Linked DNA regions of Homo sapiens: regions 2, 3, 4 and 5 are each linked to region 1. Evidence: promoter capture Hi-C in 16 types of primary human blood cells and fetal thymus (Javierre and others, 2016). All regions are on one chromosome and are shown on one strand. Each heading gives the region's core, a stretch centred on a gene start or on the middle of the fragment in contact. The rest is flanking DNA. Distances are from core to core; before and after follow the strand shown. Region 1 holds the start of EYA3 (EYA transcriptional coactivator and phosphatase 3). Region 2 holds the start of SNHG12 (small nucleolar RNA host gene 12). Region 3 overlaps FAM76A (family with sequence similarity 76 member A). Region 4 overlaps STX12 (syntaxin 12). Region 5 holds the start of PPP1R8 (protein phosphatase 1 regulatory subunit 8).

Evidence for each region. Contacts are between HindIII fragments. The CHiCAGO score rates a contact against its expected background, and 5 or more counts as called.
Region 2: a contact is called between the fragment with the promoter of SNHG12 here and the fragment with the promoter of EYA3 in region 1, in 13 of 17 cell types (fetal thymus, non-activated CD4 T cells, activated CD4 T cells and 10 more). The highest score is 16.2, in fetal thymus.
Region 3: a fragment that was not itself captured here is called in contact with the fragment with the promoter of EYA3 in region 1 in 2 of 17 cell types (M2 macrophages and M1 macrophages); the score reaches 5.5 in M2 macrophages.
Region 4: a fragment that was not itself captured here is called in contact with the fragment with the promoter of EYA3 in region 1 in 2 of 17 cell types (M2 macrophages and M1 macrophages); the score reaches 7.5 in M2 macrophages.
Region 5: a contact is called between the fragment with the promoter of PPP1R8 here and the fragment with the promoter of EYA3 in region 1, in 1 of 17 cell types (M2 macrophages). The highest score is 5.8, in M2 macrophages.

What each region holds. Positions count from the first base shown.
Region 1 is chr1:28,086,289-28,090,628 of GRCh38, forward strand. EYA3 (EYA transcriptional coactivator and phosphatase 3) reads right to left here and starts at 2,322. Exons shown (of 18, transcript NM_001990.4): 1 at 2,236-2,322. RefSeq lists enhancers at 1,922-1,981, 2,192-2,261. The HindIII fragment of the contact is 6,678 bases long and covers 1-2,442 here.
Region 2 is chr1:28,581,129-28,585,468 of GRCh38, forward strand. It overlaps SNHG12 (small nucleolar RNA host gene 12), which reads right to left and starts at 1,855. Exons shown (of 6, transcript NR_146382.1): 1 at 962-1,855; 2 at 1-101. RefSeq lists enhancers at 1-236, 237-1,022. The HindIII fragment of the contact is 3,732 bases long and covers 1-2,598 here.
Region 3 is chr1:27,760,228-27,764,567 of GRCh38, forward strand. FAM76A (family with sequence similarity 76 member A) reads left to right here. Exons shown (of 9, transcript NM_152660.3): 9 at 268-2,889. The coding sequence ends at 354. Among named protein-coding and RNA genes, the nearest start is that of STX12, 11 kb to the right of the region's middle. The HindIII fragment of the contact is 2,005 bases long and covers 440-2,444 here.
Region 4 is chr1:27,805,518-27,809,857 of GRCh38, forward strand. All of the region lies in intron 4 of STX12 (syntaxin 12), which reads left to right. Among named protein-coding and RNA genes, the nearest start is that of PPP1R8, 23 kb to the right of the region's middle. RefSeq lists an enhancer at 1,674-2,197. The HindIII fragment of the contact is 1,929 bases long and covers 816-2,744 here.
Region 5 is chr1:27,828,487-27,832,826 of GRCh38, forward strand. It overlaps PPP1R8 (protein phosphatase 1 regulatory subunit 8), which reads left to right and starts at 2,296. Exons shown (of 7, transcript NM_014110.5): 1 at 2,296-2,405; 2 at 4,270-4,330. The coding sequence starts at 2,350. LOC124903885 (a long non-coding RNA gene) reads right to left here and starts at 3,297. Exons shown (of 2, transcript XR_007065562.1): 1 at 2,263-3,297; 2 at 1-335. RefSeq lists enhancers at 1,775-2,560, 2,434-2,603, 2,561-3,345 and a silencer at 2,224-2,303. The HindIII fragment of the contact is 9,216 bases long and covers 1-4,340 here.

The DNA.
Region 1 (4,340 bases), core at 1,072-3,571:
CTGTAACCTCAAAATCTTGGGCTCAAGCAATCCTCCAACCTCAACCTCCTGAGTAGTTGGGACTACAGGCGCACACCACTACACCAAGCTAATTTTGTCTATGTTGCCCAGGTTGGTCTCGAACTCCTGGCCAATCCTCTGGCCTTGGCCTTCCAAAGTGCTGGGGATTATAGGTGTGAACCACCATGCCAGACCTAAACCCTAATTTCTTTATGTTTTGTAAATAAGAGTGCCACTTCTTACTAGTGACAATGGTATATAATCTTTATAACTAGATTTTATTATTTTCTATTGTTTTGAAGACAGAGTGATTTCCCATCATTTTTGGGGTTTAATGTTCTTATCTTAATCTGCATTAATTAAGCTGGCATTCCCATGGCTTAAATGAAGCCCACAAACCTGAAGGTAAGGAAGCAGCTGGAGTAAGCCATACACATTGGGGTTTGTTTTGAAGGATGGAAAATAGGCCAGGTTGGACAGAAGCTAGAGCTAGGTAGTGGGGAGGAGGTACACATAAGAAACTTTCAAAGAGGCTTCACTTAGCAGTTAGATAAGTCCTGAAAGCCAATCAGAAGGGTCCTTCTCCGTGGCTTCTAGGACTAACATGGCCAAGCTCCAAAGTCCTTTGCTAAAAACAGCTGAAGAGAGCCCAATTTTGGAATAAGCCAAGGACTATACACTCTTATATGTATATGTATCATATAATGAAGATTTTTCTATAGCTAATTAGCCAAAAGATAAGCAGGTGCTCAAAGCTGTATTTAAGTTCATACTGAAGTACTACATTTTAAAGCACAATTTATAGATTACAGAAACTGATGACACAAAAACCGCTGCAATCAAGTGCTAGATATACACTATAAACATCGGGAAAAAATAAAGATTACCCAAGCCTATACTCTAGATCACAAAATTTGGGAAAGGGAGCACTAACCATTATTAAATGCAATTCCTTCATGTTATAAATGACTTTAAACCTCTAGGGAAATTTAAGAAAGGTGCCCTAAATCTCAAAATGAGAAAATGATAGTTTTACTACAAAGGTGGAAATGGTAAGGAAAAAAAAATACAAAAGTTAGAAGAATATTCTAAGTAATGTACTTCTAAGTAATGTAATTCTAAGTAAAGTCTGGCTAATGAAGGAAGAGGAAGACAAATAGAAAACTTAATACAGTAAAAATGAAAAAATGCATATGTGCATACTAAGTTTAAAGATTACTTTGAAATTACTATAGTGAACTCTTCAGCAGACCACTTTTCGGAAACAACACAATAAATTCATAAATCTGGGGCTAATGATCTCTCCACAAATTCTGTCCTCTATCATCACAAGTGTCCTGTAAGAAGCGTCCATGCCGAAAACAGAGCTGAACGTCCCAAAATATTGGCGTTTTTGCCTCAGCTGTGCACATCCATTCTCATGGGAACACAAAACTGACAGAACTTCTTCATGACTTGTCAATTAACAAGATCGCGCCAGCCCAACTGCTAGCAGTACCGTGTGCCTGCCACCTGTTAGCTGCTCTTGAGAGAGCCCCAAAACTGAGGTAAAGCGAAGAACTAGGAACGCCTTTGTTGTACCCTAACTATGGAAGCTACCAGAGTTCAGTCTAACCCGGCGCCTTAAGGCAAAACTTCCCCCAGGCTGGGGAAGTCTTCCCATTTCGGGGCTTTGGCAAAGCTCTCCTCTAGCTAAGGACAGGCAGAAGAACCCCAGGAGAAGCACTGTCACCTACTGGTCCCAGGAGGAAGGATCAAAGCTGAAGAAAGTTGGGGGACAAGGAACTAGGACCCTAGGGAGAGGCTCAGTTTCTCGTGGTGAAGAGTGAGCACAATGAGAAGCTGGGCCGTCTCGCTAGGTGAAAGAACGCTGAGATCCCAGATCAGGGGTAGGGGAAAAGAGGTTCTAAAAGAAGGGAGGAGGAGAAAAAAGGAGAGGCAGTGGCTGAGAGAAGCGCTGAGGCGTAAGGCAAGAAACCGAGGTTGGAAAAGGACTGATGAGGCTGAGGAAAAACAGCGAGGCGACAGAGGCACGGAAGCGCGAGAAGGCTAAGCTGAGGTGAATAAGGCGAGGCCAGCGTGAAGGAAAGGGCTGAGGTGAGTGAAGCACTGCAGTGACAAGGGACAGGCGAAGAGACTCCCACCCACAAGGACCGAGGCAGAACTCTAGACCCATCCCCCTTCACGCTGTGCTCGCCCGGCTGCGCTCAGACCCTGTTGGCAGCTGAGACTCACCCAAAGGCTGTAAAAGCCCCACAACAGGACATGGAGATCAGTCCAGACCCACAGTAGAACCAATCGAGCGGAGGAAACCGCGGCGTTAGCGTGACCCGGATGCGCATCGCTAGGAACCGGAAGTAAGCGGCCAGAGTCACCTCACAATCCACACCTCGTTCCACTAGAAACCTCTGGGCGCATGTGTTGAGTCTGACCGGGCGGGGAAGCTTTTAGGCTCCGCCCACTCCGCCGGCCCGGCGAGCCACGCCCATGGCCACGCCCCTCTTAGTGCCTCGGAGACAAGCAGCTTCTGGGTGAGCGCTAGGCAGTCCTGACGGTACTACAGCCTTCACTTTTAAGGAGGTCTTTAAAAATGCGCGTAATCCCTACCTGGCTAAAAGGAACGTAAGAAGTGTTGGGTGCATTTGGTAGATTTAGAAAAACTGGGAAGGAGAATGAGTGGGAAGTTTTGGAAGACATTTGGGAGGCTAGCCCAAGGTGATCTTTTTTTTTTTTTTTTTTTGAGACGGAGTTTCGCTCTTGTTGCCCAGGCTGGAGTGCAATGGCGCGATCTCGGCTCACTGCAACCTCCGCCTCCCGGGTTCAAGCGATCCTCCTGCCTCAGCCTTTCGAGTAGCTGGGATTACAGGCATGTGCCACCACGCCCGGCTAATTTTGTAGTTTTAGTAGAGACGGGGTTTCTCCATGTTGGTCAGGCTGGTCTTGAACTCCCGACCTCAGGTGATCCGCCCGCCTGGGCCTCCCAAAGTGCTGAGATTACAGGCGTGAGCCACCGCGCCCATCCCTTTTTTTTTTTCTTTTTTTGAGACAGAGTCTTGCTCTGTCGCCCAGGCTGGAGTGCAGTGGCGCGATCTCGGCTCACTGCAACCCCCGCCTCCTGGGTTCAAGTGATCCTCCCACCTCAGCCTCCCGAGTAGCTAAGACTACCGGCGCGCACCACCACGCCCGGCTAATTTTTGTATTTTTCGGTAGAGACGGGGTTTCGCCATGTTGCCCAGGCTGGTCTCCAACTCTGGAGCTCGGTTGATCCCTTGGCCTCCCAAAGTGCTGGGATTACAGGCGTGAGCCCCAAGGTGATCTTTTTATCCCCAAATTTAGTTTATTCTTAATATTATATTAGGCTTACAATTCACTTCGTGCACACTGTTTTCGGAAGCAAAATTCTTAAATGTTTCGTTAATTTTAAATTACAACCCAAGTATGGGCTAGAAGCAAGGTTGAATTCAGGCTTTGTGGAGACTTGACGTTTATTCAATTTGGGGGCCCTCTTTAAAATAATCAAGGCCAGGCACAGTGGCTCATGCCTGAAATCCTAGCACTTTGGGACGCCGAGGTCGACCGGTTGCTTGAGCCCCGGAGTTGGAGATCACCTGGGCAACAAAATTAGACCCTGTCTCTACAAAACAAACAAAGCAAAACAACAACAAAAAAAACCCAGAAAAATTAGCCAGGTGTGGTGGCACGCACCTAACTGAGCCCAGGAGGTAGAGGCTGCGGTGAGTTATGATTATGCCACTGCACTCCAGCCTGGGCAACAGAGCGAGACTGTCTAAAAAAAAAAAAAATCCAAAATTACAAATACAATATTAGATATAAAAGTGAACCTTTTATAATGAGAAAAATTACAAACATTTTTATTAGCTCACAAATACCACGAATAACAAAATCCAGAAAAAAAACTATTTTTTCTACATTTTTTGACTGTATATTTGATCACCTCTTCCGATGACAACAATGTACTAAGCAACATCATTTACTAAGATCCTTAACTCCTCTCTCATATCCCACATGTACTCCATCAGCAAGTTCTGCAAGATTTGCCTTCAAAATCTGTCCAGAACCTGACCATTTACTGCCTCCGTTGGTATAAACCAGTCAGTCAGTGACTGTGAGTGCCCTATTTATACTCTTGCCTTCCCACAATCTTTTTTTTTTTTTTTTTTTCAGACAGAGCCTCCCTCTGTCACCCAGGCTGGAGTGTACTGGCCTGATCTTGGCTCAGTGCAACCTCTGCCTCCTGGGTTCTCCTGCCTCAGCCTCCTGAATAGCTGGGATTACAGGGGCCCGCCAGCACGCGCGGCTAATTGTTATATTTTTAGTAG
Region 2 (4,340 bases), core at 605-3,104, 490 kb after region 1:
ATCTCTGTAGACTAAGTCAGTCATCCTGTAGGCCCCACTGCCCACGCTGTGCCAATAGCTGGTGTGCTTTTTCTCAGTCTTGATGGGACCGTTTTATCCGCCTATTACAGGTAAGAGGTTTAGACCGATTAAGTTACTTCCTGAAGGTCGCTTAGTCACTTAGCGAGGCTGAAAGCAACAAGCTGGGATGCACGCAAGGGTCTGAATGCCTAAAACCCGTCCTTCTGAAAACCGTGTCTACCAGGGCGACCTCCAGAGGTCTCGCGCGTAGTCACCAGTCCCAAAATCACCTAGCTGGTAAATGTCACAGATTCAACTGGAGGCCATCCTGACACCAGCATGCGGCCTCCCCCTGAATTAAGACACTTCAGGCCCAGGGATTCATCCCCGCATCCCCCAGGAGACCGGTTCCCAAACCCCCACCCCTTCCGTAAACCCGGCCGCCTGCCTGCAACACTCACCTGTCAGCCCAGAGCGCAGCGTTGCGCAGTCCGAAGCGAGAGAAGGGCGCGGCCCCCGCGGGCTCCCGCCCCTCTCACTGCCGAGGGGGCCTTTCGGAGCTCGGGCCCACCGGGTTGGAAGGCCCGGCTCCTCCGTGCCACATTCACCACCATCTCGAGGCCGTGGGAGGAAAAACCCGGCGAGTGCGCGCCAGCAGCAGCGACTAGCGGGGAACGGCGCGCAGGAAGGCAGGCAGAGGCTTGCAGCTAGTAAGTCGACACCGGGAATGCGGCGGGGAGAAAGGGCGCTGAAGCCGCGAGCAAGAGCTTATATAGGCCGCCCCTCGCGGCCACACCCGACAGTAGGCCGCCCGCGTGGCGCACAGCTGCCTGGGAGTTGTAGTTTGCTCGCCCCGGCGTTGTCCGCGCGTCACCTCCCCAGCCCTACGCGCGTGTCCATCCCGAGCCCGCGAAGCGAGAACCGCCAGAGGCTTTCCTCCGAGCGGAAGAAGCGCCTTCACCTTTCAGTGCCCGGCGCTGGGCCCACGCAGGAAGCCGACCCGCCTTGGCCTCTGGAGTTGTCTCTGGGATGTCTTTCAGTCTGGAAATGAACCCTGTGTGCTGGGAAAGGGCTCGGGCTCCGCTCCGAGCTCAGTGGGCGTGCGAGCGAGCAGCGCCTGAGTGGGTTTCGGGGAGGGGGTCATACTCCCCGAAAGGCGATTTATTCAAGGCTTGTCTCTTCCACTAATATGTAATTTTACTGAGCGCGTGCTATTTTAACTGTGTCTGATTATCTGATCTAGTTTTCATAAAAACCCTGTGTACGCTCTGTGGACAAATAAGGAAACTTAGGAATGGATCACACAGCTATCGCAAGCGAGGAGAGGACTGGAATTTGGAGCCCACCCCAGGCACCACACATAGCGCAATGTTTTGCCCATGGAATGAATAAGCCTCAGTATGAAAACTTAGTGGTGATTGCCGAGAATTAAACACCCATCCTGTGCCTAATCTATTAATTTTTATTCTTACATACACTTTTTTGTTTGAGACAGGGTCTTGTTCTGTTGCCCAGGCTGGAGTGCAGTGGCGTGATCAAGGCTCATTGCAGCCTCGACCAACTGGGCTCAAGCAATTCTTCCACCTCAGCCTCCCAGGTAGATGGGACTACAGGTGCGGGCCAACTTTCCTTGCTTACACTTTAAAAAGTAGGTACTACTGCCGGGTGCGGTTACTCACGCCTGTAATCCCAGCACTTTGGGAGGCCAAGGCGGGTGGATCACGAGGTCAGGAGATCGAGACCATCCTGGCTAACACGGCGAAACCCGGTCTCTACTAAAAAAAAATACAAAAAAAAATTAGCCGGGCGTGGTCGCGGGCGCCTGTAGTCCCAGCTACCCGGGAGGCTGAGGCAGGAGAATGGCGTGAACCCGGGAGGCGGAGCTTGCAGAGAGCCGAGATCGCGTCACTGCACTCTAGCCTGGGCAACAGAACGAGACTCTGTCTCAAAAAAATAAAATAAAATAAAAAGTAAGTACTACTTTAGCAGGTCGTGGGGGCGCATGCCTGTGGTCCTGGACTCCTCTCTTTCTCTAACATCACATGTCCAAGCCATCAGCAACTCCTGTGTGCTCTACCTTTAAAATGTATCAATAATCTGACTGTTTCTTACCCCTTCCACTGATGTTACCCTAATCGTTGACCCAGATGATAGCAATAGTCTCTTATCTCCCAGATCCTGCTGTTGCTCCCGACAGTCTGGTCTCCACACGCCAGCCAGCCTGCTAAAAGTTTTTTAATTTTTATGAAGTCTAAGAGTCAATTTTTTTTTTTGTAGTTTATGCTTTTTTTTTTTTTTCTTGAGACGGAGCTGCTCTGTCGCCCAGGCTGGAGTGCAGTGGCGCCATCTCAGCTCACTGCAAGCTCCCGCTCCCGGGTTCACGCCATTCTCCTGCCTCAGCCTCCCAAGTAGCTGGGATTACAGGCGCCCGCCACCACGCCCGGCTAATTTTTTGTATTTTTAGTAGAGACAGGGTTTCCCCATGTTGGGCAGGATGGTCTCGATTTCCTGACCTCGTGATCCACCCGCCTCGGCCTCCCAAAGTGCTGGGATTACAGGCACGAGCCACCGCGCCCGGCCGTTTGTTTACGCTTTAAAAGCTTAATAATTATGCTGGGCGCGGTGGCTCCCACCTGTAATTCCAGCACTTTGGGAGTCCGAGGGGGCAGATAACCTGAGGTCAGGATTTCAAGTCCAGCCTAGCCAACATGGTGAAAACCCGTTTCTACTAAAAATACAAAAATTAGCTGGGCGTGGTGGCAGGCGCCTGTAATCCCAGCTACTTGGGAGGCTGAGGCAGGAGAATCGTTTGAACCTGGGAAGCGGAGGTTGAAGTGAGCTAAGATGGAGCCATTACACTCCAGCCTGGGCGACAAGAGCGAGACTCCGTCTCAAAAAAAAAAGAAAAAAAGTAAAATTATTAAACTTTTTTTTTTTTTTTTGGAGATGAAGTCTCGCTTTTTCGCCCAGGCTTGTGCAGTTTATTCTGTGTCAATTATGCCTCAATAAAGCTGTCAAAAAACCATTAAGAAAAAATGTATATCTCCCAGGCGCAGTAGCTCCCACCAATTCGGGAGGCCAAGGCAGGTGGATTACCTGACATCAGGAACTAGAGACCAGCCTGGCCAACATGACAAAACCCCATCTCTACTAAAAATACAAAAAAAAAAAATTACCCAGGCATGGTGACACTCATCTACAGTCCCAGCTACTTGGGAGGCTAAGGCATAAGAATCGCTCGAACCTGGGAGGCAGAGGTTGCAGTGAGCCAAGATCATGCCACTGCACTCCAGCCTGGGTGATACAGCGAGACTCCCTCTCAAAAAATATATCTATATATATCTATCTATATCTATGTGTGTGTATATATAGATAGATAGATATACATATTATATTAAGGCAGATGCAGTGGATCACCTGTAGTCCAGCTACTTGGGAAGCTGAAACAGGAGGATCACTTCTGTCCAGGAGCTGGAGGTCAGCCTGGGCAACAAAGTGAGACCCTGCCTTTAAAAATAAATAAGGCCAGGCACAGTAACTCATGCCTGTAATCCCAGCACTTTGGGAGGCCAAGGCGGGTGGGTCACGAGATCAGGAGTTCAAGACCAGCCTGGCCAAGATGGTGAAACCCCGTCTCTACTAAAAATATAAAAAATTAACCAGACATGGTGGCGGGCGCCTATAATCCCAGCTACTCGGGAGGCTGAGGCAGAGGTTGCAGTGAACCGAGATCGTGCCACTGCATTCCAGTCTGGGCAACAGATCAATATTCCATCTCAAAAGTAATAATAAAATAAAAGTAAATAAATAAGTAACATGTATTTTTTAAAACTTTTTTTTTTTGAGACGGAGTTTCCCTCTTGTTGCCAGGCTGGAGTGCAATGGCACGATCTCGGCTCACTGCAACCTGTACCTCCCAGGTTCAAGTGATTCTCCTGCCTCAGCCTCCTGAGTAGCTGGGATTACAGCACCTGCCCCAGGCCCGGCTAATTTTTTGTATTTTTAGTAGAGACGGGGCTTCTCCATGTTGGTCAGGCTGGTCTTGAACTCCCGACCCCAGGTGACCTACCTGCTTGGCCTCCCAAAGTGCTGGGATTACAGGCATGAGCCAGGCCTAAAAAACATTTATATCATGTTATTCACTTGCTCAGAAATCTCCCATGACTTCCCAACACACTTAGAATAAAAACGGCAATCTCCATAATGGTCTCCAAGGTCATACGTGATCAGGCTCCTCCTCCTTCCTGCCCTCATCACGCACCACTTGCTCCCTCACTCAGTCAGCTCCATCTTCCTGGACTCTTTGCTCTTCTTGAAGCACCCCAGGGCCTTTGCTCTTG
Region 3 (4,340 bases), core at 192-2,691, 330 kb before region 1:
ACTTCACAGTTTGTATTGCATAAAGCATCCCTTTGTAACAGTGGGTCCCAAGAGATTGAGGTACACTGATTAACCTCTGGCAAATACTTTTTTCTCCTGAACCAAGTTTCAAGCCCTAGAGCTTCCTGTTGTTTTCCACCTCTAGAATTGTTCATCTCTTTCTGACCCTCCACATTGTCTGCCTTAGCATCTGCACTTACTCTGCATGAAAAATAGCTTATATCCTGTTTGAAACATCCTTCTTGCACTGATTTTTTTTTTCTTTAGGCCAAAAACCGAGAGCTCCTGAAGCAGGCAGCTGCTTTGTCCAAGAGCAAGAAGTCAGAGAAGTCAGGAGCTATAACCTCTCCATGACAGACCTCAAGGAGGCTCCCTAGCAACAGCAAATGGAGTTGTCCAGGGTTAGGGTTGGAGACCTGGCTGTTCTGTGGGAATTGCAAGCTTTCTTAAGAAATCTCTATTTTATTACAGTTATCCTTCTTTGTGCGATTGCAGTGGGCTGAATGGAAACACCTGGTTTGTGCTGTGTTAGACTGCATGCTTGAGTGTTTGGGATTTCAAGCTCGCTCTCTTTCTCTCACTATTAGGACTTTTCTTTTTCTTCTTCCTCTTCTCTCTATTTTGGTTCTATTCTTTTTTTTTCTTTTTTCTTTTTTTTTTTTTTTTTTTTTTTGTGGTGGTCACTGCTCAGTGTAATGTGCAGAATGATTTGTTTTTTGTTTTTTTTTTTTTTTTTGGTCCTTCATTGCATCCTGCCATACCCATGAGCAAACAGTTTGGCATTAATTATATATCACTGCCACCCTCTGAACTTTGAAAACTGCCATCTTCAGACTTGGTATAATGGAAGAGGCTTTCTCTCTCCAATAAACCTTTTGCTTCAGGGTATACTCTTCGGTTTTTTTCCAGATGTATTATGTATGAACTTTGTACTATGTATAGCCAGAGTTTTATTTATTTTTTAAAAAAGAAACTTTTTCTTGATAAAGGAATAATGGTGGTCTAGCTAGTTCTTGTAAAAGTGATGCCTCTTGAAAAAAAAACAGTCCTATTCACTAGCTTTTAGTAAAAGAATCAGATCTTTTCTTTCTTGTTACCTTGGAGTCTTAAAAACTGATTGCTAAGGTGAAACAATTCAATGCATAAGTATGGAGCTAAGTGCCTTTTGGAGGATTTCTTGGAAGAGCATTTATGGAGATACTTAAGGGAGGTAGCAAAGATTTGAACCGTCTGTCTTTTTAAGTAAGGGCAGAAAGCAAGGTTGTCCAGGTTGTACTGGACACTTCTCTCCCCACCCCTTTCCTGATTGTTTTATGTGATTGATTTTAAATTCTCACACTGCCACTTCTTTAAAAAATAAAATCCTTTATTTGCTTATATCAGTTGTCATACTGGGCTGCTGTCAGAGAATGTTTTTTTACATGAATGAACAGATTAAAAATGGAATAATATGGTCGGGTGCGGTGGCTCACGCCTGTAATACCAGCAATTTGGGAGGCCAAGGCGGGTGGATCATTTGAGGTTAGGAGTTTGAGACCATCCTGGCCAACATGGTAAAACCCCATCTGTACTAAAAAAATACAAAAATTAGCCGGGCCTGGTGGCATGCACCTGTAATCCCAGCTACCCAGGAGGCTGAGGCAGGAGAACTGCTCGAATCCCGGGAGGCAGAGGTTGCAATGAGCTGAAATCGCAACACTGCACTGCAGCCTGGGCAATGGAGTGAGACTCCGTCTCAAAAAAAAAAAAAAAAGGAATAATATTTGAACTACAGAGCATTTTTGGGGTCAGCATGAGCTGCTCTAGTAAGGACTCTTGAGTCTGGGAAAAGTGGTATCACTATACCTTCTCCCCACTCCTCACCCACCCGAGCCCATACACTCCCTGCTTTTCATGGATATGTATTGAAAACAGGTGCTTCTCAGAAGCACTTTGCCTCAACCAGAGTTATGTATGCCCTGCCTATCTTCCCTTCTTAACCCTGTAGGAATATGGATTTACTTTTCCAGGAAAGGGGATAGATTTACATTTCTAGGCATACTCTCAGGTCCTCTATGTGATGTTTGTGAAAGGAATTAGGGTGTGTCATGTGTGCCATGAAACAACAAAACCAACTACCCTAGAATCATTTATGCAGGGGGTACTAGAGTTAGAAATAATAATGAGGGCAGATAACATTTGTACCTCAGTCTACCAAAAAATTATAGTACTAAATTTAACTTCTAGGCGTTTCCTGGAAGCAGATGCTCTATAATTTGTGATAGCATTCTCATAAATGGAGTCCTACACATAATTGGACAGAGATGTGGAAATGGTGGTTTCCTTCTGATAAGGGATACAGTGGACCATGTCGCTTATATATCACCCTACTAGGGGATATAATTTTCCCTTCTAAGCAAGGGAAATGGCAGTGCTAAATAGTTTTGTAAAGTTTTTGAATGAGAAGCTTTTAGGTAAAGATAAACTGTCATAATATTTTTCAGATGCATTTGCATTGACTATGGGAGAAAAATTAGGGGGAAATGACAGTCATGGTGTTTTTTTTTAATTTTAAGGACTGAAATTCTGTTACATGATGTATGACAATATAAAAACATACTTAGTTTTATACTAAATCTTTTTTTAAGGTCTTGGCATTTAATATAAAGCAAATTCACACGTTTTCTAACTTTCCATAAGTTCCAAAAAGGGAAAGAAGAAACCTCAGTCTTGAAATTTTGATTTTTAAAAATCATGACACTGTTTTACCATGAAATTGAGTAGCTAACTTTTGGTAACACCTTTTGTTTCTTTGTATGTTTGTAATAATGGACATTTTAAAACACAGGAATGTTTTGGTTTGTACAGACTTTGACAAATGTGTGTTAATAAAAATTCATATTGACTCAAGTGTAATTGTTGGATTTTGTTTTTATTTCTTGCTGTTTACCAGTAGACATACCCCGTTATCCCCTTCAGCCCTTCAGCCTAGAAAAGTTTGTCTTGCTTATAGACTTAAAAAATTAAAAGCCTAACTGCTAATTGGGAATTTCCTGTCCATTAGAGAATAAACTCTTTCTTTCTCTCTTCTATGACTGTTTTGAGACAGAGTCTCACTCAGTCATCCAGGCTGGAGTACAGTGGCAAGTAGATCACTGCAGCCCCGACTTCCTGGGGATTCTCCCACCTCAGCCTCCCAAGTAGCTGGGACTACAGATGCACGCCACCATACCCAGCTAATTTTTGTATTTTTTGTGAAGATAGGGTTTTGCCATCCAGGCTGGTCTCCAACTCCTGGACTCAAGCCATCCACCCACCTCATCAGCCTCCCAAAGTGCTAGGATTACAGGCATGAGCTACCACACCCAGCCTCTTGGTGATTCTGTTTACCCAGTGTAAGTGCTCATGTTGTGATAGGCACTGTGCTAGGCAGCGCGGTTACAGCAGTGACAAAACCAAGTTATTGTACTTATGGGGCTTCCATTTAGTGGAATATTGGACACCACCACACCACCATTGTTCCTTGATTTAAAAAAAACTTTTTTTTTTTTTAATGGAGTCATGCTCTGTCACCCAGGCTGGAGTGCAGTGGCATGATCTCGGCTCACTGCAACCTCTGCCTTCTGGGATCAAGTGATTCTCCAGCCTCAGCCTCCCAAGTAGCTGGAACTACAGGTGGCGCACCAACACATTCAGCTAATTTTTTTGTATTTTTAGTAGAGACGGGATTTCACCATGGTGGCCAGGCTGGTGTCGAACTCCTGACCTCAGGTAATACGCCCGCCTCAGCCTCCCAAAGTGCTGGGATTACAGGTGTGAGCCACTGTGCCTGGCCAAAAAAAATTTTTTGAGACAGTCTCTGTCACTTAGGCCAGAGTACAGTGGTGCGATCTCAGCTCACTGCCCCTTTGACCTCCCAGGCTCAATTGATCCTTCCACCTCAGCCTTCCAAGTAGTTTGGACTACAGGCATGTACCACCATTCCTGGCTAATTTTGTTTATTTTTTGTAGAGATGAGGTTTCAGTATGTTGCCCAGACTGGTCTTGAACTCCTGGACTCAAGTGATCCTCTCGCCTTGGCCTCCCAAAGAGCTGGGATTACCCAAGTGTGAGCCACCTCACTCAGCCAAATGTTCCTTGATTTTTATTATTATTATTCAAAATATAATACAGAATGAATCTGCATGAAGTATGAGTGAAAGCTTTTTGAAATGTCATCTCAGAAGGGGAGGAATGCATCCCTTTGAAACCCTAGAGCCAGCAGGTTTTAAAATGAGAAGTGCCTTTCAGACACTCACTGTTACATCCTGGTCATTCTATAAACTCAAAGCTAATTTTCTCAGAATAAGTTGAAGATACTT
Region 4 (4,340 bases), core at 530-3,029, 280 kb before region 1:
ACTAAAGATGTAAATGATTTATATAACACCATTACAGTATTAGAATATTCTGAATTTGACTATTTACTTACTTTTACCAGTGAATGTTATACTTTCATATGTTTTCATGTTACTAATTATTATGCTTTTCATTCAGCTTGAAGAACTCCCTTTAGCACTTCTTGTGAGGCAGGTGTAGTGGTGATGAACTCTCTCAGCTTTTTTCGTCTAGGATTATATCTGCTTCTGTATTCAGTCTATTATGATAGATTGTTCTGGTTGAAGTATCTGAAGAAAATCCAAGCTAGCAGAAATATACAATTGGAAAAGGAATATTTTTATAACCTTGTTGATACTCTTCTTTGATACTACATCAAAACTTGACAAAAGTTAGTTGCATTGTACAATCTAAAACCATTATAATGACTTCATACTCTGTTACATTAACATCTGTTGGTCTATATTATACTTTGATTGGATCTTTTATCCATGCATGATTTTTATAGCATCATGTATTTATCATTTGGATAGTATTGGTTCCCTGAGTTATGCAGCTCTTCCAAATGTCGATACATTTCATTTTACAATATAAAAAAATACATATTTCCATCAGTTTCACCAGAAAAGTATTTAAATATTGGGAAACTCTTACAATGGTAGATACAAGTCTTCCGAAATTTTATTTTTATTTTTACTTGAAAGCTACATTTTTGTCATTGGCAACAAACACCCTCTGTTGTTTTCCTTGAAGTGACAGGCTCATACTTCTTTTCAACAAGTTGTCTGCCAAATACCCATCTGAAAAGTTTATATGTATACGTTTATGAAAGTTTTAAAGCTTTTAAATAAGTTTTTAGTAAGTTCTTATAAAACTATATTGAATAAGTAAAAATGGTATTCCCTAAAAAAAGTGGCTAGTTCAGCCTGCAGTTCCATTACACAAGTGCTTTTCCTAGAGACAGACATTGTATTTCTTTATGCAGCAGAAGTACTTTATGTGCACTTCCCATTTCACAATACAGAATAGTAGAAAGATATGTATTGAGGGGTCAAGGTTTAATTAATAATTTGTATGGCTTCAAGAATACATTGGCTTTTAAAATACGGTGAGTGTGTGGTGATGAAGAATACAATAATACTAGTGCAATTCGGTGCCACTGCCTTCAGCCATTTTATCTATCTGTATTAGTCCATTTTCACACTGCTATAAAGATACTACCTGAGACTGGATACTTTATAAATAAAAGAGGTTTAATTGACTCACAGTTCTGCGTGGCTGGATAGGCCTCAGGAAACTTACAACCATGGTAGAAAGCTAAGGGGAGGCAAGGCATGTCTTACATGGTGGCAGGAGAAAGAGAAAGAGAGTGCAGGGGAAATACCAGACACTTACCAAACAACCGGATCTCATGAGAACTCCCTCACTAACACGTGAACACTAACACCCCCATGATCCAATCACTTCCCACCAGGTCCCTCCCTTCGCACGTTGGGATTACAATTCGAGACGAGATTTGAGTGGGGACATAGAGCCAAACCATATCACTACCATTGCCTTTTTTTAATTTTTAATTTTTGTGGGCACATGGTAGGTGTATATATTTATGAGGTACATGAGATACTTTCATATAGTCATGTAATGTGTAATAATTACACCATGGTAAATGGGGTGTCTATCCCCTCAAGCATTTATCCTTTATGTTACAGACAATTCAATTATACTCTTTTAGTTATTTTTGAATATATAATTAAATTATTATTGACGATAGTCACCCATTTGTGCTATCAAATACTAGGTCCTATTCATTCTTCCTATTTTTTGTGCCCATTAACCATCCCCACTTCCCCGCCACCAGTCCCCCACCATTGCTTTTGCTCCGTCCTGTTGATATTTACACTCATGGAGCAAATAAACACGTTAGTATTATTTTGAGTAATGGTCAAACAAATGAAAAGGTACTCAGCTTCTTTAGTAATGGTGAAATTACAGATTAAAATAACAATGAAATACTATTTCATGCCCACCAGGAGGGCAGAAGTTTAAAATTCTGTGAACACTGGGAGTTGTCATTATGGATATGATGCAACAGGAACTTTTTTATCTGGCCGGTGGTATAAGTTAGAACAACTACTTTGGAAAACATTTTGGCTGTATCTTCAGAACACATGCAGACCTTGTGATCCAGCAATTCTACCCTAGAGAAACCTGTATGTGTTATACCAGGATGTATGTACAAGAATGTGCATAGCAGCATTGTTTGTAGTAGTCAAAAATTGGAAACATCCAGATGTCTGTCAACTGTAGAATGGATAAATTGTGTTATGTTCATATACTATAATATCATACAGCAAAGAAAATGATTGAACCACAGTTACATTCAGTATCAGAGATGGATCTGGCATAATCTGGAATGATTCAAAAAAAGCACTAAAGAATATAAACAGTATAATTCCATTTATGTAAAGTTCAAAAACAGGCAAAATGATATTGAATAAGAATATAGCTCACTATTCTTAAAATGCAAGAAAATGATTTTCACAAAGTCAAGATAATAGATACTTTAAAAGGGAGGGATGGAGTTGTGATTGGAGAAGGGCACATGAGTAGGCTTTTAGGACTCTGGCAATGTTATTTCTTGATCTGGGGAAAAAGATAAAGTAAAAAGAAAAAAACAAACCAAAAACCCACAGTGTTCCTCTGAGTGGATAGAAATTTGAAATTCTTTTCATTTTGCTTGTCCTGTATTGCTATTATAAAAAGGGTAAGCTTTTTAAAAATGAAAATACATTGATTTTTACCATTTTTGCTTTGTTTTTTATTTATTTATTTATTTATTTATTTATTTATTTATTTATTTATTCTGAGAGGGAGTCTCACTCTGTCACTCAGGCTGTAGTGCAGTGGCACGATCTTGGCTCACTGCAACCTCTGCCTTCTAGGTTCAAGCAATTCTCCTGCCTTAGCCTCTCGAGTAGCTGGGATTACAGGCACCCACCACCATGCCTGGCTAATTTTTGTATTTTAGTAGAGACGGGGTTTCACCATGTTGGCCAGGCTGGTCACAAACTCCTGACCTCAAAGTGATCTGCCCACCTCGGCCTCTCAAAGTGCTGGGATTGGGATTACAGGCATGAGCCACCGCACCCAGCCTGTTTTTAAATTATAAAAGTAATACATCCATTAGACTGATTTTTTAATAATAATGATATTTATTCTTACAGCTTGATTATAAAGCATACTTTTTCCTCATCAAACAGTAACACCTGAAAGATTCGATTGCTAGTCTTTCACCAAATGCCAAAAATCCTGGTGAATTCTCTTTTAAAGTAGCACTATATGCTTGCCTAACTTTCTTAATTCAATAGTATTAGATAAATTACCATTGGAAAGACTATTTTTCAAAAACGTTATTATATGCCAAAGAGGAGACTATGATAAATCAGAGTTATTGTAAGAATTAAACAAAATAATATACAGAATAATAGTTCCCAATAAGTTCTGTTAAATCAAAATCTGCCACGATTTGAAGCAGCCTTCTTGAAAATAAAGGTTAGTGGGCTGGGCGCTGTGGCTCACGCCTGTAATCCCAACACTTTGGGAGGCCGAGGCAGGCGGATCACGAGGTCAGGAGTTTGAGAGCAGCCTGGCCAATATGGTGAAACCCCGTCTCTACTAAAAATACAAAAATTAGCTGGGCGTGGTGGCGTGCACCTGTAGTCCCAGCTACTCAGGAGGCTGAGGCAGAAGAATCGCTTGAACCTGGGAGGCAGAGGTGGTAGTGCAGCCGAGATCGTGCCACTCGATCCAGCCTCGGGACCAGAGTAAGATTCCATCTCAAAAAAAAAAAAAGAAAAGAAAAGAAAGGTTAGTTTATGTGTGTTTATGCCAAATCCCATCTCTCCAGAGTTTAATATATATTGATAATAGATTGATTAGCAACGTTCTCAAAGATCTCATATACTCTTTTTTTTTTTTTTTTTTGAGATGGAGTCTTGCTCTGTTGTCCAGGCTGGAGTGCAGTGGCGCAATCTCAGCTTACTGCAGCCTCCGCCTCCCTGATTCAATTCTCCTACCTTAGCCTCCTGAGTAGCTGGGACTACAGGTGCCCGCCACCACGTCCAGCTAATTTTTTTTGTATTTTTAGTAGAGACGGGGTTTCACCATATTGGCCAGGCTGGTCTTGAACTCCTGACCTTGTGATCTGCCCACCTCAGCCTCCCAAAGTGCTGGGATTACAGGCGTGAGCCACTGCGCCCGGCCAGATCTCATATACTTTTGACCACACATCAGTAAAAATCAAAAAAACCTTAGGAGAAAAAAAGGTAACACCATTTACATTAGACTGATTTTTGAAGTGAAT
Region 5 (4,340 bases), core at 1,046-3,545, 260 kb before region 1:
TTAAAGGCCAGAGGAAAAGGTGTTTCTCCAGTCTACCTAAGAGTTGATAATCTTAAAATCCAAGTTAATGTTATATTGCAGTTACTTTTTTGATCTTCTCACTCCTTCTAAGTTATATTGCAGTTAAATCTTGAGGGCTGGAGACTTCATCAAGGGCAAAAATCTTTTGAATAGGCTGATTTTCTACAGAACCAGTAGCATGGAAGCAAGAAAAGAACTACTTTCATCATAGATTCCTCAACTTGCTGAGCAGTGCCTCTTTCTGGATGAACAGGAACTTAGCAATTGATTTATTTAAAAAAGGAAAAACTGGTCAGATAATCCTCCCAACGCGTCTACAAAAGTGAAAAAGAGGGGCATCAGTTGCATGCTAATAATAAATATAATTATACCAACATCAAAGTGTAAGAGAGAATAGTGACTCATGAGCATGGCCTTCGGCATCATATAGGTTTAGGTTTTTGATCCCACTCCACTTGTTCTAGGGTGAAGCTGGGTAACTCAATCTCTCTAAGCCTCTCCTCTGGAATTATAATAATACCTAACTCAAGAGTATTGTCAGGATTAAGTGAGATGATCCATATAAAATACATACTTGCCCAGGTAACTGCTGAACAGACAATGCCATTAAAACCAGAGGCCCTCCCGTCCAGGAGGGAGGTGGGGGGGGGGTCAGCCCCCGCCCGGCCAGCCGCCCCATCCAGGAGGTGAGGGGCGCCTCTGCCCGGCCGCCCCTACTGGGAAGTGAGGAGCCCCTCTGCCCGGCCACCACCCCATCTGGGAGGTGTACCCAACAGCTCATTGAGAACGGGCCATGATGACAATGGCGGTTTTGTGGAATAGAAAAGGGGGAAAGGTGGGGAAAAGATTGAGAAATCGGATGGTTGCTGTGTCTGTGTACAAAGAAGTAGACATGGGAGACTTTTCATTTTGTTCTGTACTAAGAAAAATTCTTCTGCCTTGGGATCCTGTTGATCTATGACCTTACCCCCAACCCTGTGCTCTCTCCACTCAGGGTTAAATGGATAAAGGGCAGTGCAAGATGTGCTTTGTTAAACAGATGCTTGAAGGCAGCATGCTCATTAAGAGTCATCACCACTCCCTAATCTCAAGTACCCAGGGACACAAACACTGCGGAAGGCCACAGGGTCCTCTGCCTAGGAAAACCAGAGACCTTTGTTCACTTGTTTATCTGCTGACCTTCCCTCCACTATTGTCCTATGACCCTGCCAAATCCCCCTCTGCGAGAAACACCCAAGAATGATCAATAAAAAAATAAAAAATAAAAAACCAGAGGCCCTGCTAATGGTCTCTTAAAACCAGCTGGTGATCTAGGGCAAGCGAGCAATCCTTATGCTTCCTTGCCCTATAACCAAAAGCAAAAAATCCTTTTTAAAAAAATTAACCATTTGAGCCAAGCACAGTGATGATTTGGACCCCTGCTTTCTGACTGGACCTGCTCCTGGCTCCTGCTTGTCCAGAGTTTTCATAAACAGACTAGGTGACCCCTAATGCAGATTCCCTGACAATCTACAGGCCTAAACGTGAATTAGAAAAAAGTGAGTAGGGTGCCACTTTTTGGAGAAGGGCTGAAGAGAAACAATAATCACTCCAATCTCCGAGTTTTGCCCTTTAGCTTCTCCGCTTTGAGGGCAAAAGGCTGACGGTCTTAACCTAAACTCTGGAGGAGGATGTAGTCCCCAGATTTTTTCTTTCTTTACTTTTTTTTTTTTTTTTTTTGAGACGGAGTCTCGCTCTGTTGCCCAGGCTGGAGTGCAATGGCGCGATCTCGGCTCACTGCAACCTCTGCCTCCCGAGTGCAAGCGATTCTCCTGCCTTAGCCTCCCAAGTAGCTGGGATTACAGGCATGTGCCACTACACTCGACTAATTTTTGTATTTTTAGTAGAGACGGGGTTTCACCATGTTGGTCAGGCTGGTCTCAAACTCCCGACCTCAAGTGATCCGCCCGCCTCAGCCTCCGAAAGTGCTGGGATTACAGACGTGAGCCATCGCGCACGGCTTAGTCCCAAGATTTTAGAGCCAAGAAGCGTTTGCAGGAGGACGTAGGGAAAGACTGACTCCCCTCCCTACAAAGCCCCTTTTCCTTTGACACCTCCTGGCCAAGGAAAACCCTAACCACTGGAGACTTCCAGAGACGGCCAACTCGCACAAACGCTGAAAAAAAAAAAATCCCAAAAGCTCCTCTGTCCCCACTAGAAGCACCGCCCCCCGTACGGGCGTGCGTGAGCGTGCGTACGCACAGGCTGCTGGGATGCCGCTTTTCCCTTCTCGGTCTTCCAGTTTCCCGGCGTGCTTAGGGCGCGCCAAATGGGAGGGGGAGACGCAAGATGGCGGCAGCCGCGAACTCCGGCTCTAGCCTCCCGCTGTTCGACTGCCCAACCTGGTGAGTGGCGGGGCGGCCAGGGCTAGAGTGGCCCGGCCGGAGCTAGCCTGGGCTGGAAGGGCGGCTCTTTTTTTACTTTTCTGCTGCGAGCCGAACGGCTCAGAAACCCCGGAATGGTTGAGGAAAAACTGTTTGCTGCACCGGGCCGGGCGACGTGTTGAAGAACCGAGAGCCTGGAGCCCAGGCCCAGGAACTGAAGAAACCCGGGGTTGGGGGCTCAAAGGCGCTCACTTAGGCAGCCCCTTTGAGCGATTAGCCAGTCGCCGGAGCGCTTCGAGGCCTTGGCCCGAACTTACGCCCAACTCTTGACTGAGTGCCTGGTGCTCTCGTGGAGCATCGCATCTGGCCCCTTCCTGTACGTCCCGAGCGCGCTCGAGCCAGCCCCGGCCCCAACCCTACCTCCAAGCCCCGCATCCCTCTGTGGTTGCTGCATCCCTCGTGCGGCACTTGTCTGTCTGCCACAGAGAATACGAGGGTAGGTTAGCGCCATCCCTGCCCTCAGGGAGCTCCCAGTCTGTGGCACTAGTAGGCATTAGTAATGGTTGGCATGAACCCTTTTTATCCCTTCGAAAGTTCTTGGGAATAATGAAATAATTTAATTTGGTCTTTGAGTAGGGTACAAGTTGAATAAATATGAATTACCTTACAAGGAAACGCTTCTGAATTAAGAGTTTTTTTCTGCTGTAGCTCATCGCAGTGTATTGTTTGTTGCTTGTCTCTGTCTCCCGTTGTATTGCCATCCTCAAGGGCAAAGACTGCATCTTTGTATTCCCAGCTCCTAGGCCTGAGTCAGGCACATAGTAGGAATTCAGAAAGTATGTTTTGGATGTAACATTCCTCCTTTTTCCTGGACAAAATGGCCTTTTGTCCGGTGCATTGTCCTTTCCATAGAGGAGGGGTTGGGGCAGGATTGTGAGATGACTGTGTTGAATCTTCAGTTAGCTAGACAAGGATACGTTTTTTCATGTGCAAATCTAAAGGTTCTAGTGAGGTGGTTCTTTTTTCTAACTTCAAATTAGCAAACCCAAAAAGCAAGCAAATGTGTGGCTATTTTCTGGATCGCTTTGCACTTTTGTAGTAGTTGCTTCAGTCTACAAATTCTGTATCCATTTTGATCCCTCGCTGTATTGATTTCAAATTTGGGCCGAGATAGCAAACATAGTTAGAAAGCACTGTTTTTGAGATCACCTACCCTTTCCTTAGGATCTGGTAGGTACCAGGCACCGTTAGGTGCTTTGACATATGAGTCTCCCTTGAATGGTATGGCTGTAGGATATAGAGGAAACGTCCCCTAATCATGCTGTTGTAGAAAGACCTGTTTCAAGGGTAACATATTCATTTGGTACCTGGTTTCATGGGGCATGATTTTGAATTGCCCTAGTTCCCTAATTATGCACCTCTGATTTGGTTTCAGAGCTCAGGACAGTACTCTTTGCTTACTCTGTGATGAGACTAATCTTGATGAGCCCCAAACAGCAACTAATTTATTCGGTCTTTATATGATATTGGAGTAGGGGTGGATTTCAGATTCAAACTCCAGGTGACTAGACCACCCCAGCTATCGTACTTGCACTCTCTATGCAGTTCTTTCTCTGAGGTGAAGATCCAGTGTTAAAATATAGGTTTCTTGGTGCTGCTCTAAATACAGATCTACTAAAATCTGTTGCAGAGCAATTGAATCACTAGGGAAGTAAGTGTCAAACGTAGAATGGAGCTGTAATAACAGTGAAGTGGATGACATTTCTGCTTGAACATGAACTAATTATAGGCTGGTAGGAGAGCTGCAATGTTGAATGGGACAATGGTTGTAAATAGCATTTATAAACCCATCCTGAAAATGCTTTTTTCTATTTTTATTTTTCAGGGCAGGTAAGCCCCCTCCCGGTTTACATCTGGATGTAGTCAAAGGAGACAAACTAATTGAGGTATGGAAAT